5 separate regions of the Homo sapiens genome follow, and all the other regions are linked to region 1. Evidence: promoter capture Hi-C in 16 types of primary human blood cells and fetal thymus (Javierre and others, 2016). All regions are on one chromosome and are shown on one strand. The core of a region is centred on a gene start or on the middle of the fragment in contact, and the rest is flanking DNA. Distances in the headings are between cores, read along the strand shown. Region 1 holds the start of LPIN2 (lipin 2). Region 2 overlaps DLGAP1 (DLG associated protein 1). Region 3 overlaps DLGAP1 (DLG associated protein 1). Region 4 overlaps DLGAP1 (DLG associated protein 1). Region 5 overlaps DLGAP1 (DLG associated protein 1).

Evidence for each region. Contacts are between HindIII fragments. The CHiCAGO score rates a contact against its expected background, and 5 or more counts as called.
Region 2: a fragment that was not itself captured here is called in contact with the fragment with the promoter of LPIN2 in region 1 in 1 of 17 cell types (monocytes); the score reaches 6.8 in monocytes.
Region 3: a fragment that was not itself captured here is called in contact with the fragment with the promoter of LPIN2 in region 1 in 1 of 17 cell types (naive CD8 T cells); the score reaches 5.2 in naive CD8 T cells.
Region 4: a contact is called between a fragment that was not itself captured here and the fragment with the promoter of LPIN2 in region 1, in 2 of 17 cell types (activated CD4 T cells and total B cells). The highest score is 6.1, in activated CD4 T cells.
Region 5: a fragment that was not itself captured here is called in contact with the fragment with the promoter of LPIN2 in region 1 in 9 of 17 cell types (total B cells, naive CD8 T cells, naive B cells and 6 more); the score reaches 15.7 in total B cells.

The regions. Positions count from the first base shown.
Region 1 is chr18:3,011,885-3,014,653 of GRCh38, forward strand. LPIN2 (lipin 2) reads right to left here and starts at 1,260. Exons shown (of 20, transcript NM_001375808.2): 1 at 1,203-1,260. RefSeq lists a silencer at 701-1,650. The HindIII fragment of the contact is 8,581 bases long and covers 1-2,769 here.
Region 2 is chr18:3,722,201-3,724,992 of GRCh38, forward strand. The region is part of intron 7 of DLGAP1 (DLG associated protein 1); the gene reads right to left. Among named protein-coding and RNA genes, the nearest start is that of DLGAP1-AS6, 71 kb to the left of the region's middle. The HindIII fragment of the contact is 1,719 bases long and covers 492-2,210 here.
Region 3 is chr18:3,575,093-3,577,792 of GRCh38, forward strand. All of the region lies in intron 8 of DLGAP1 (DLG associated protein 1), which reads right to left. Among named protein-coding and RNA genes, the nearest start is that of DLGAP1-AS1, 18 kb to the right of the region's middle. RefSeq lists enhancers at 875-1,376, 1,377-1,876. The HindIII fragment of the contact is 2,599 bases long and covers 37-2,635 here.
Region 4 is chr18:3,628,919-3,631,618 of GRCh38, forward strand. All of the region lies in intron 7 of DLGAP1 (DLG associated protein 1), which reads right to left. Among named protein-coding and RNA genes, the nearest start is that of DLGAP1-AS6, 23 kb to the right of the region's middle. The HindIII fragment of the contact is 716 bases long and covers 1,034-1,749 here.
Region 5 is chr18:3,666,135-3,668,834 of GRCh38, forward strand. The region is part of intron 7 of DLGAP1 (DLG associated protein 1); the gene reads right to left. Among named protein-coding and RNA genes, the nearest start is that of DLGAP1-AS6, 14 kb to the left of the region's middle. The HindIII fragment of the contact is 2,330 bases long and covers 170-2,499 here.

The DNA.
Region 1 (2,769 bases), core at 10-2,509:
CTGCACTGTGTGGCCGGCTCTGCCGCTTCTCCCCCGCTTCAGCATCACCTGCCACTTCTTCTCAATCTGAAGCCACTAAGAACGATCAACACCAGACCGTTAAAACATAAACCAGTATGGGCCACTAAATAATTCGTAAATATTTCAAAATGTATTTCAAAACCGACTTTGTATTGTCAAAACATTATAATCTAGCCAGGCCAAGTTTTAATAAACAGTAACACCCATCATCACTACTGGGTAAAGAACTTCATTCAACAGGACCTACCTTGACACCAAGTCTAGAGCCTCGTTTTCAATTAAAAAAAAAATGGGTAAGCCCCAAATGTGCATTAAAAATTAGTTTGGCCATTTACTAAGTAGTCCTTCAAAGCATTTCCAAGTATTCAGAGTTCCAGTACTTTTCGGAAAGGAAGGGTGATCTTTCTGGTACTGGTTTGCATAATTATGCCTAAAAAATGTCATCTTGAATTTTCAATGAAAAGAGTCTTAAAATGTTCAGGCGAGTGGAGAAAATGGTGATCCGCTGGCGTTAGAAGTGGACAGAGAGGCTCTCAGTACAAACTGTATCTGAACGTGTTCCTCACAAATTAAGATCTGCACCGGGGGCTGGGGGGCTTTGAGAAAACTAACCACATTTGAATCCGGTCCACACAGCTTGAAGGCGGAGGTACGGGGCAAAGCGCGGCGGGGAAGAAACACCAGCAACTCGGCGGCCCCCGCCTCGCCGCAGATCACGTGCCCGGCGCCCCCTCCCGCAGGGCCGGGGGCGGGATGGAGACGCGGCCTCCCGCGCGCCTTCCGCACTCCCCTCCGCGCCCCAAACCCAGGGGTAGGGGTGGTCTCGGGTAACCATCCCCAGGGCGGCGGCGAGGGAACTGCGCGGGTTCAGAGTCCTCAGCAGCCACCACTGACGCCCCGACGCCCCCGGCTCCCCGCGCACCCCGCCGGTCCGTCCTGCGGCGGCGGCGGTAGGGGCCGCGTCTACGTGGCGCGGTCGCGGCGAGGCGGGGACTGGGACGCGAGGACCGGGAAGCGGGGACCGCGGCGCGAGGAGGGGCGGCTCAACCCGCGCCGCCCCGGAGGGTCCCGGCCTCCGGCAGGACAGCCCCGGGCCCGCGCCAAGGGAAGCCCCCAGGCGCAGACACTCACCGCCAGCCCCGGAGGGACGCCTGCGAGGAGCCCGGCCCGCGCCCACTTACCCACAGGGGCTCCGCTCCCGGCCAGCGGGCGGCTGAGGGCAGGCGGCGGCTGGACTGCGACGGCTAGGACCCGCCGGGGAGGGAAGCCGAGGGGGCGGGGCCGGTCGGGGGCGCGCGCGGGGTCGGAGCGCCCGCAGCCGCCGCTGCCTTGGAAGCCGCCTGGGCCGCAGCTGAGTCGGGCGGCCCTCATGAATGGGACGCCGCGGCTGCGGCGGCCGAGCCGGCAGCTGGCGGGCGGGCAGCGCGCAGGCCCCGCCCCAGCCACGTGACGCGCGCTCCCGGCCGCGCGCCGCGCCCCCGCCGCCGAGCGCCAGGCGTGCGGCTTCTCACCGCTCCCAGTCCCTGGGCTGCGCGCCCGGGCCCCTGGCCAAGTGAGGGCGGGGCCTCGATTTTCTAGTGCCTCGGGCGACAGGAGCCTTACTTTGTTTTAAAAAAAAAAAGTTTCTTCCGGTCCCCATGGCAACCCTGCGGCAGGTCACGTGGGACTGAGAGCCCAATTGCCAAAAAGGAATGTTAAAGTGCAAAAAAAGTCTAGGGAATGAATGTTTTATAATCCCCTTTTGATCACTAGTAGCACATCTCCTTTGCTTACTTACATCTCCACCGAAAAAAAAAAAATCCTATTACACAACTCATTTTTAAAAATATGCCGGGGTTCTGTTGTTTTTTGTTTATTCTTTTTATCGCTCTGTTACCCCGGCTGGTCTCCAACTCCTGGGCTCAAGCATCCCCGCACCTCGGCCTCCCAAAGTACTGGAATTACAGGCATGAGCCACCGTCCCCAGCATTAAAATATACTTTTTAAGAAATGGGTGGCTCACGCCTGTAATCCTAGCACTTTGGAAGGCCGAGGCAGGCGGATCACTTGAGGTCAGGAGTTCAAGACCAGCCTGGCCAACATGGTGAAACCCCCGTCTCTACTAAAAATACAAAAAACCAGCCGGGCGTGGTGGCGCGTGCCTGTAATCCCAGCTTCTCAGGAGGCTGAGGCAGGAGAATCAGTTGAACCCGGGAGGCGGAGATTGCAGTGAGCCGAGATGGCGCTATTGCACTCCAGCCTGGCGACAGAGAGACTCCGTCTCAGAAAGAAAAGAAATGGGGCCCGGCGCGGTGGCTCACGCCGGTAATCCCAGCACTTTGGGAGGCCAAGGCGGGTCGATCGCCTGAGGTCAGGAGTTGGAGACTAGCCTGGCCAACGTGGCAAAACCCCGCCTCTACTAAAAATACAAAAATTAGCCGGGCATGTTGGCTGCAATCCCAGCTACTTAGGAGGCAGAGGCGGTAGAATCACTTGAACCCGGGGGGCGGAGGTTGCAGTGAGCAGAGATTGCGCCACTTCACTCCAGCCTGGGAGCGAAACTCTGTCTCAAAAAAAAAAAAAACAAAAAAAACTGGATTGCTGGTGCTATATACTATTGGTGCACACTGGTTTTTAATTTGCAGCCTATTCTATTACTATTCTATGATTGAAAGTAATGAACAGAAGCCTATGTTACTTCTATATAAATGGCAGTTAATTTATGAGGTGCATCTTGTGTGTGATCATTTATACAGTTCTAAGGGTACT
Region 2 (2,792 bases), core at 101-2,600, 710 kb after region 1:
TCTGTGAGGCATAGCCCCTCAAGGTTGGCACTCCGTTCCCAAGAGGTGATTTATGTACTTCAAAACAACTGCAGGAGATGGAAGCACATGGTATTCTTCAGATTTTAAATCTTGCTCTGTGCCTGATAGGACTTTTGCATTTTTATGACTTCCTAATATTATAGAGGAATCCTACCTCGAGTGCCCCACAGAAGAAAGGAGAAGTTATAACCAAAAGTCTCCTGCAAATCATCACTGTCAGTTTCCTTCAATGTAACAGCAGACAAGGATAAGTTGCCTCACAAAAGGAGTAGGTTGTGTCATAAATCTTGCTCTTTTTTCTTTCGTCTGAGCCTGCAAGGGTGGAAGTACGCGATGTCTCCAGTTCCACTTGGAGAGATTCAAAGAAGGAAAACTCATTAGCAGAGGGACAAGGAACCAGTCCAGGCAATATCTGAATATTTATTATTTGATTTTATCTTGAATAGAAAAGAAAGGTGCTTTGTTCAGAAAGCTTCTGATTGATATCTGTCCCTTTGACTTCTGAACCTTTGCCTCCCTGCTTTATAACAAGGATCTATTAATTAACTTGGTGCTTGGCAGAAAGAACTGAGCTTTCCCCGAACTCTAAGAATTCTCCAAAAATGGTCATTAATGCTGGGAAGAGGATCAGCATTGTAATCTCATTTTATACATGAAGAAACTGAAGTTCAGATTAACTTCATACTCAAGCAATAAATAATTTGTAGAGCCGGGCACCGAAGGAACAAAGGGCTGTTTACTGAGAGACCTGAGCTTCTTATTCTGACTTTGCCTCCTGTTGGAGGTTCACCACTTTGGGCCTTAGTTTCCTTACCTTTGAATGGGTTTGATGAATTAGATAGGTGCAGCAGACTTTCTCTGTAAAGGGCCACATCATAAATGTATTTGGCTTTGTGGGCCAAAACATTCCTGCAGAGACTACTCTGCAGGAACTATTCAACTCTGCTTTTAAAAGAGGGAACTATTCGCTGAAACTTCTGTTTACAGATAGCAGGTAAACAAATGGGTGTGAGTTATGCCTGATGACAGTTAATTTACAAAAACAGGCAGCAGGTTGGACTTGGTCCATAGGGTATGTTTGCAGACCACTAGACTGGATGATGTAGAAGTTTGTTTATAACTGCTAATATTTGATGACTCAGCTTGTTTTAATAGCAATGCTATTTTCCCTAGGAAAGTCAGCTTGATTATTCAATCGTCTGTGGCTTGTGCAGTTTGTGGAGTACTTAAAGATTTTTCTGCAGCTTTTCCTTTCTTCTTCCATTTTTGAATGCCTGCTGTGTGTATTGCAATTACAAATTATTATCTTAATGTCATTCTGCTTAGGGTTTAGGGTTTGTGTGGGGGGGGAGTGGGGAGCAAGGTGTGTGGGATTGGAGTGTGGAGTGCATGAAGGTGGGTGAGGTGTGGTCTCCTGGGTAGGATGACTGACTTGGAATGAAGACCCAAACCCTTAGGAGAACTTTCTGAATGTTAGTTCTGACCTCAGATGATCAACAGATTAGCTGCTTTTGCTATATTAAGCAAGGCTTGAGCAAGTGTTTCAGAGCTGCCAGGAATGGGGGAGGGTGTAAGGTAGGAAGATGGAAGAATGTGTCTCAACTTAGAGGAAAATATGATTTCTCCTGTTACAAAAATCAAACTGTAAATACTTCTGTTACTGTGGTCCCAAGCTACATCCAAGAGGGTAAGCACTGCTTTCCCATGGGGGACACTGTACCCTAGGTTCTTACTCCCCTTCCTGAACTATGTGAAGGAGAGGAGAACAGTTCAACTCCATCATTGTTTAATAAATTCCTCTAATAAGAGAATTAGAGTATTGGTGGGGCATAGTGGCTCACACCTGTAATCCTAGCACTTTGGGATGTTGAGGTGGGAGGATCACTTGAACTCTGGAGTTTGAGACCAGCCTGAGCAACATAGCAAGTCTTCGTCTCTACCTCTACAAATTGTTTTTTAAAAATTAGCCGGGCACAGTGGCATGTGCCTGTGGTCCCAGCTACTCTAGAGGTTGAGGTGAGAGGATCACTTGGGTCTGGGAGGTTAAGGCTGCAGTGAGCCATAATCACACCACTGCACTGCAGCCTGGGCAACAGAGCAAAATATAGCACACAGGCCAAACTTTAAGAGTAACAGTGTGGCAAATGAACCTATTTACTCTTTATAAAACTTGTATTATTGCTACACAAAGCTTCTTTGGAATTTCAAAGTGAAGAATTTTCTTAAAAGACCAGAGAATCTGTTGGGTGTGGTGGCTCATGCCTGTAATCTCAGAACTTTGGGAGGCCAAGGCGGGTGGATCACTGGAGCCCAGGAGTTTGAGACCAGCCTGGCCAACATGGTGAAACCCCATCTCTACCAAAAATACAAAAAATTATCCGGGTGTGGTGGCATGTGCCTGTAATCCCAGCTACTCAGGAGGCTGAGGTGGGAGGATCACTTGAGGCGGAGGTTGCAGTGAGCCATGATTGCACCATTGCACTCCAGCCTGGGTGACAGAGCAAGATCCCATCTCAAAAAATGAAAAAAAAATTAGCCAGGCGTGGTGATGTGCACCTGTATTCCCAGCTACCTGAGTTCAGGAGGCTGAGGTGGAGGATCGCAGTCCAGGAGCTGGAGGCTGCAGTAAGTTATAATCATACCACTGCACTCCAGCCTAGGTGACACAGGGAAACTCTGTCTCAAAAAAAAAAAAAACCCAACCAAACAGAAAAACCCACCAGAGAATATATATCATGATAGCTTGCCTACTTCTGTCAAGGAGCATTATT
Region 3 (2,700 bases), core at 86-2,585, 560 kb after region 1:
CGTGAGCCACCATGCATGGGCCTTTTTATTTTTCAAAGCTTTCTTTCAAATAGTAACCATTCCTTTGGTTTGTACTTTACTTGGCAGAGACAAGTTTCATTATCTGCAGTTGGACTTATTTCTTCACATAAGCATAAAATATTAATATATATCTGTACACTTGGACAGGTATTAAAGGAAATAAATAAGTCTTAAGAGTATGATCTAAAATAACTAAATTTTCTTTTATTTTTAATTCAAAGAATAGAGAAAGCCATTGCATTTCATATAATGTGAAGATTAAGCTGTTCTTTTCATCTGTTTTGCAAATTGAGTTAAATGATAATATATGGAAATCATAATGTACCATCAGGAAGTAGAGGGGTCAGGGCCTAAAGGTAGTACATGAAACTCATCTGTAGTCAGAATTACTCTTGAGAGACTAAAAGACAATGTAACCAACTGTTGCCAGGGGTCACCTTTGGGGAGTACAGTAGGAATACGAGGTGGGAGTGGGAAAGAAGGGGAAATCTCATATTTTGCTCTATACACTCCTGTACTGTACGAACTCTTTATAATAATCCTGTATACATGAATTACTCACTTTGTAATTATAAGAAAACAAAAAAAATTTATCCTAAAGGTGCCTATGACTTTTAGTTTAGACATACAACTTTGCTCTAAATCCAGAGCAGCCAGTCCCCACAATGCCCCCATCACCCCCAGCACTAGGGTATCAAGAAAAACACCAGATAAAGTACTTGACTTGTTTTGGTGCCATATTATACAGAAATTTATATCTTTAAATATTCTAGAAGCAGAGTGCCACAAGGTGCTCCCATAAGAACATAGGAATCAAGACTGCACACGGATCATGTCCATTTTAGGTCTTTTAACACACATGCTGATTGAAGGAAACAGCACATTTATTTATTATATCAGACAAAGAGCTTTGTTTTGGTGATTTGCTTACTGTCTAGCAGCCTCGAGCCCATCTTCTACATTTAGCTGCTCTTCGACACTGCGGCCAGGACTCCCAAACTACATTTCCTAGGCCTCCTTGTCAGCTGGTTTCCAGCTGTGTTCTAACAAAGGAAGGTGGAAGAAGAGAAGAAACTTCCTTCCTGTTTCCACCTTCTTCTGGCATCACTCTTGCATGTGAAGGTAGCTATGGCTCCACCCTCCAACTCCTTTTTTTTTTTTTTTGAGACGGAGTCTTGCTCTGTCGCCCAGGCTGGAGTGCAGTGGCGCGATCTCGGCTCACTGCAACCTCCGCCTGCAGGGTTCAATCAATTCTCTGTCTCAGCCTCCCGAGTACTTGATATTACAGGTGCCCACCACCATGCCCAACTAATTTTTTTGTATTTTTAGTAGAGACTGGGTTTCACCATCTTGGCCAGGCTGGTATTGAACTCCTGACCTTGTGATCCGCCTGCCTTGACCTCCCAAAGTGCTGGGATTATAGGCATGAGCCAGCGCAGCCAGCTCCAGCTCCTTTTTTTTTTTTTTTGAGATGGAGCTTCGCTCTTGTTGCCCAGGCTGGAGTGCAATGGCGCGATCTTGGCTCACTGCAACCTTCGCCTCCCAGGTTCAAACGATTCTCCTGCCTCAGCCTCCCGAGTAGCTGGAATTACAGGCATGCACCACCATGCCCGGCTAATTTTTTGTATTTTTAGTAGAGATGGCGTTTCTCCATGTTGGTCAGGCTGATCTCGAACTCCCAACCTCAGGTGATCCGCCCACCTTGGCCTCCCAAAGTGCTGGGATTACAGGCGTGAGCCACTACGCCCGGCCTTTTTTTTTTTCTTGAGACGGCGTTTCACTCTTGTTGCCCAGGCTGGAGTGCAATGGCACAATCTCGGCTCACTGCAACCTCCGTCTCCCAGGTTCAAGTGATTCTTCTGCCTCAGCCTCCTAAGTAGGTGAGATTACAGGCATGCACCACCACACCCAGCTAATTTTTTTATTTAGTAGAGATGGGGTTTCACCATGTTGGTCAGGTTGGTCTCAAACTCCTCACCTCAGGTGATCCACCCACCTCGGCCTCCCAAAGTGCAGGGATTACAGGGGTGCGCCACCGTGCCTGGCCCTTCAGCTCCTTTCAACAGCCCATGCACCAGCTGCTCTGCACCACTCTGAAGTCCCAGCACCACGTGACCCTGCCACCTCACAGTCTGAGCACGGGCTACCCCAGGCCTTTCTTCTGAGCTCCTAAACTTCTGGTAACCCCACCTTTTCCTTCTTGTTCCTTTTATTGCTCTCTCAGTCTTCCCATACCTGTGTAACCAATTTTGTGTATTAAACTGTCTCTGTTTAAGAAGTGAGCCTGGTCTGTGATTTCCTGGATGAGATTTTAACCAATTCCATATGACTACACTTTTGTAAATTAAAAACGCTTAGGATGTCAGCCAAAGTAGGATGTTGTGTCTTCTACTATGCGGTGGTATAAAACTATCCAATGAAATTTGTTCAGAAGACGCATGGTAGTTATTTCCCTGAAGAAGCACGATCCTCAATGCATGAAAAAGAGGAGACAGAAAAGAAGGAGGGTTCATCAGAACAAGAATGGAGGATATTGTTCTCTGCCTGGTCCAAGCCTCATCCCCACTGGTCCTAGAACTGCCAGCTCATTTGCATCAAGTATTAGCATCTTCTAAGCTTTAGTCATTGTATATAAATTTATCTGTGATTTTTTACTCTTAGCTCCAAATATTGGCAAAT
Region 4 (2,700 bases), core at 142-2,641, 620 kb after region 1:
TTTGAACAATGCCACCATGAATATTCCTGTCCTGTATTTGGCACACAAGTAAAAGACTTTTCTAGAAAATGTTCGGGTTGTTTGCTATGAGTTTCTTCATAATGTCAAATAATATTTTTAAAAATGTGGATATTGTCCCAACATACACTCCCATAACAGTGCATGAGAATTCCTATTGCTGCTGCATATCTTTGCCAACATTTGATATTGTTACACTTTATAATTTTTTGTGGCCAGGCACAGTGGCTCACACCTACAATCCCAGCACTTTGGGAGGCCAAGACAGGAGTTTGAGACTAGCCTGGGTAACACAGCAAGACGCCATCTCTAAAAAAATAAATAGCTGAGGTGGGAGGATCACTTGAACCTGGGAGGTTGAGGCTGCAATGAGCCATGATTGTGGCACTGCACTCCAGCTTGAGTGACAAAGTGAGGCTCTGTCTACAAACAAATAAATAAAAATAAAAAATAGGCTGGGCGCGGTGGCTCAACCCTGTAATCCCAGCACTTTGGGAGGCTGAGGCGGGCGGATCACGAGGTCAGGAGATCGAGACCATCCTGGCTAACACGCTGAAACCCTGTCTCTACTAAAAATACAAAAAAATTAGCCGGGCGTGTTGGTGGGCGCCTGTAGTCCCAGCTACTCGGGAGGCTGAGGCAGGAGAATGGCGTGAACCCGGGAGGCGGAGCTTGCAGTGAGCCGAGATCGCGCCACCGCACTCCAGCCTGGGCAACAGAGTGAGACTCTGTCTCAAAAAATAAATAAATAAATAAATAAAAATAAATAAAAAATAATGAAATAATTTTTTGCTAACCTGGTAGGTGTGTATTGGTATCTCACTGTGGATTTAATTTACTTATTTTGGATTCCTAATGAGATGAGCACTTTTTGCAGGTTTTGATATTTCGATGTCCCTTTCTTGTGAAGGGCAAAGTTTGAACACAATAGGCAAATGTAGCAATCTTTTTAAAAATTTTCATGCTCTTCATATTTTATTTCAGAAACTTCCCCTACCCCCATATCATTTTGGGAAGCTTTATTGTTTGGCCTTTCACATTTAGGTCTTAAATTCAACTAGAATTGCTTAGGAGGGCTGGAGTATAAAGTTGTAATGGTTAATTTTATGTGTCAACTTGACTGGGCCATGTGGTACCCAGACATTTGGCCAAATATTATTCTGTGTGTGTCTGTGATGGTGCTTCCAAGTGAGAGTATTACATTGGAATCAGTAGACTGAGTACAGCAGATTGCTCTCCCCAGTGTGGTTGGGCCTCATTCAATCAATTGAAGACCGGAATAGAATAAAAAGACTGAATATGAGAGAATTTCTCCTGTCCGACTGGTTAAGTTGGGGCATCGGTTTTTTCCAGCCTTCAGACTTGGCCTGAAACATTGGTCCTCCTTGGGTTGTGAGCCTGCAGGTCCTCAGACTGAAACTATCCATCAGCTCTCCTGGTTCTCAGGCTCCTGGATTCAAGCTGGAAGTACACATCAGGTCTCCTGGGTCCTCAGCTTGATGACTCGAGATCTTGGGAATTCTCGGCCTCTATAACTGTGTGCCCCAATTCCCTATAATAAATCTTTGTCTTTCTCTCTCTCCTGTTGTCTCTGTGTCTCTGAAGAACCCTGGCTAATACAAAGGTATAGTCCAATTTTATTTTATTTTTTTTCCAAATAAATACTCCTCAGTGACAGCACCATCTACTGAATATTGTCCCTTCCCCACTGAATTGCAAAGATGCCTCTCAAGCTTCCATATGAGCACGGGACTATTTCTGTAATCTGTAGTCTGTTCTGTTGGGCTACTGCCCTGTCCTTGTGCTAACACCATGTCTTATTACTATAGGCTAATTATGAATCTTGATGCTCAATAGGGCAAATCCTCTAATTTTGCTGCTTTTCAAGAGTATCTTGGCTGTATGTGGCACTTTGCAAAAACTAAAACACAACAACAACAACAAAATTCAGGTTTTTGGTTGATATTGCATTAAATTTATAGATCAGTTTTAAGTGAATTGACACCTTTCTAATTTGCAGTTTTGAATCTTTTTATTTATTTTTTATTTTTATTTTTTTTATGAGACTGAGTCTCCTTCTGTCGCCCAGGCTGGGGTGCAGTGGTGCAATTTCGGCTCATTGCATCCTCTGCCTGCTGGGTTCAAGCAATTCTCCTGTCTCAGCCTCCCAAGTAGCTGGGACTACAGGCATGTGCCAGCACGCCCAGTTAATTTTTTTTTTTTTTTAAGTAGAGATGGGGTTTCACCATGTTGGTCAGGCTAGCCTTGAACTCCTGACCTCAGGTGATCTGCCCACCTTGGCCTTCCAAAGTGCTGGCATTACAGGTGTGAGCCACCGTGCCTGGCTGACTCTTTTTATATGACTTTAGGAGTTAGTCTAGAAATTCTAATCCACATATTTAACTTACTAATATCTAGACTTAATACCCTTAACCTTTTCTTAGAAAATACAAGGTACTTAAAACACTTTAACTCCTGACTTCTACTGGGTTATATGTATTTTTAATTCTGTCTTTTAAAAAATATTCTGGACAGTTGTGGTGGCTCATGTCTGTAATCTTTGCACTTTGGGAAGCTGAGGCAGGAGGATCACTTGAGCTCCGAGTTCAAGACCAGCCTGGGCAACATAGTGAGACCTTGACTCTACAAATAGTAAAAATATTAGCTAGGCATGGTGGCGTG
Region 5 (2,700 bases), core at 85-2,584, 650 kb after region 1:
GAGAGCTGGTTAGAATAATCCTTCCTACGCAGAAAGACCCAGGAAACCTTCCAGGAAAGACTAGGCAGCCGCATTGAGAAAAAACGAAAAGTAAATCTTTTGCAAATAATATCACAAAACTTCCAGCTGTGCACAAATACTGAAGGGCAATTTTGATGACAATGCAGGAAGCTTTCAAAGAAAGGATTTTTAAACATATTTTTTCCTTGGCGGAACTCTTTTTAGTAAGGATTTCCACCTTTGCCCCAGGATCCTGCCAATGTTCTTAGTCAAAGCCAGACCCGAGTTTCCTAGGATTCTTCGGTGAAACTGCATTGCCCCCTGGCGTTTGTGTGCTGTCATTACGCCGCACAGATAAAGCCCATGGAACACCTACCAATCCGAGGAAGGATGCAGCTCCTGGTTTCATCTACATGGAGAAACCTCTCTTAAAACACAGGATCAGAGAATGCAGTTCTAAATGGCAAATCTAGACTTGGTTTGACAAGACATGGAATGAAACTTTGAAATTAAAACTCCTTCCTTTTCCATCCTTAGCAGAATCTCCTGAGATGTTCAAGTAGCTCTGGAAAGAAACTGATCAGATTCTAATCTGTCAATTTAAAAAGTTTTTTTTTAAACAATTTTTAAATTTGTTTTAGAGATAGGGTCTTGCTGTGTCATTCAAGCTGCAGTGCAGTGGTGCAATCATAGCTCACTGCAATCTTGAACTCCTAGGCTCAAGGGAGCCTCCTGCCTCAGCCTCCGTAGTAGCTGCAACTACAGGCGCCCACCACTACACCCTGCTAATTTTCTTATTTTTAAATTTTTTTGTTTTGTTTTAGAGATGAGGTCTCACTGTGTTGTCCAGGCTGGTACTCCTGACCTCAAGTGATCCTCCTGCTTTGGCTTCCCAAAGCTCTGGGATTACAGGCCTGAGCCACTGTGCCCGGTTGCTAATTTGTCAATTTTTTTTTTTTTGGGAGTCAGGGTCTCACTCTGTTGCCCAGGCTGGAGTGCAGTGGTGCATCTCAGCTCACTGCAACCTCCACCTCCCAGACTCAAGCGATTCTCTTGCCTCAGCCTTCTGAGTAGCTGAGATTACAGACATGCGCCACCACCACCCAGCTTATTTTTGTACTTTTAGTAGAGGCGGGGTTTTACCATGTTGGCCAGGCTGGTCTCAAACTCCTGACCTCGAACGATCCACCTGCCTCGGCCTCACAGTCAACAAATATTGACTGTGCTGCTTACCATCCATGTGAACTTGGAAAACCCTCTTAACCTTTCTTTGTCTCCTCCACTTACAAAATGAGGCTGATAATAGTAGCATATACCATCTAGTACCTAGTAAACACCCTTTAAGTGTTTGTGAATGATGAGAACTATGTGAGTTTTCCACTCCGGTGGACTAGGGAAGATTAAAAAACATTCTGTGATGTTGAAAGGGCTTGGACTTGGTTCCTGGCCAAGTCTATTAAAACCCCAAAACACAAAGAAATGCTCCAGGTACTGCGGTTTCTACCTGGCCTCAGTGCAAACCTAGAATTAAGTACATCTCTGACACTTCCAGGTCGGTGTGACTGGACCTCTGAGAATATGCTGGGGCCTGAGAGGGTCCATTCTTGTCCACACCAGGGCAGAGTTCCACCCCCAAGGCTAGGCCAGAGCCGGAATGACTCCAGGAGTAAGGCCAAGGGTGGTCTTCCTTGGCCCAGGTTCCTCTAGAATATGCCACTGTGGCATAAAAATGATTTTGAGCTGAAGGCATTTGATAAGAGGCTTATTTCTAAACTCCTTATCTGCCCCAAAGCAGAACCTCCTCCCAAAACTCAATTGTCATAAATCCCTTCCCACAGATTTTTCTGCAACCAGAGAAAGTTGACTCTAATACCAAAGAGAAGCCCACAGCACACCTAAACAGGCATTGTCACAAAACTATCATCTCCCATCTATTCTCCTAAAGGCCCATGATCTTTCTTAAAAGTAATTTATTTTTCCTTAAGTGCCCTTCTCCTCCTCCCCTTCTCTTGTTCAGATGGCACATAAGCCCCAAATTGTAAGTGCCCCCTTGAGGCATATTTTCCTGAGAACTCCCATACATAATGAACAGAAGCCTGTCTTTTCTTTTGCAGCCCCCAAAACACTGAACTTAAGAGGGTAAAGGAACAGTTTTTCCTTCCTTCGTTTCTTCTTTCCTTCCTTCCATGTTTTCTAGAGACAGGGTCTCACACTGTCATCCAGGCTGGAGTGCAGTGGTGTGATCATAGCTCACTGCAGCCTCAAAGTCCTGAGCTCAAGTGATCCTCCCCCCTCAGCCTCCAAGTAGCTAGGACTACAGGCACATGCCACCACACCCAGCTAATTTTTTTAATTTGCAAATTTTTGTAGAGATGGGGGTCTCACTGTGTTGCCCAGGCTGGGGAAAAGTTTTTCATCTTCCGTACCTTCTTCTGTGCCTTTGGCAAAATACTGGACTCCACTGTGCAAAAAAAAATCTCTGCTCAGGCCTTCAAAACAAGCTTCACATCTTGTGCCAAGCTATCCTCAGTCGAAGCAGTGGTGGCAAATAGACGCACCATAAATGAGAAATAGAATGCTTGGCCCAGTGCACTGGCTCACGCATGGAATCCCAGCACTTTGGGAGGCCGAGGCAGGCAGATCACCTAAGGCCAGGAGTTCGAGGCCATCCTGGGCAACATGGTGAAACCCCGTCTCTAC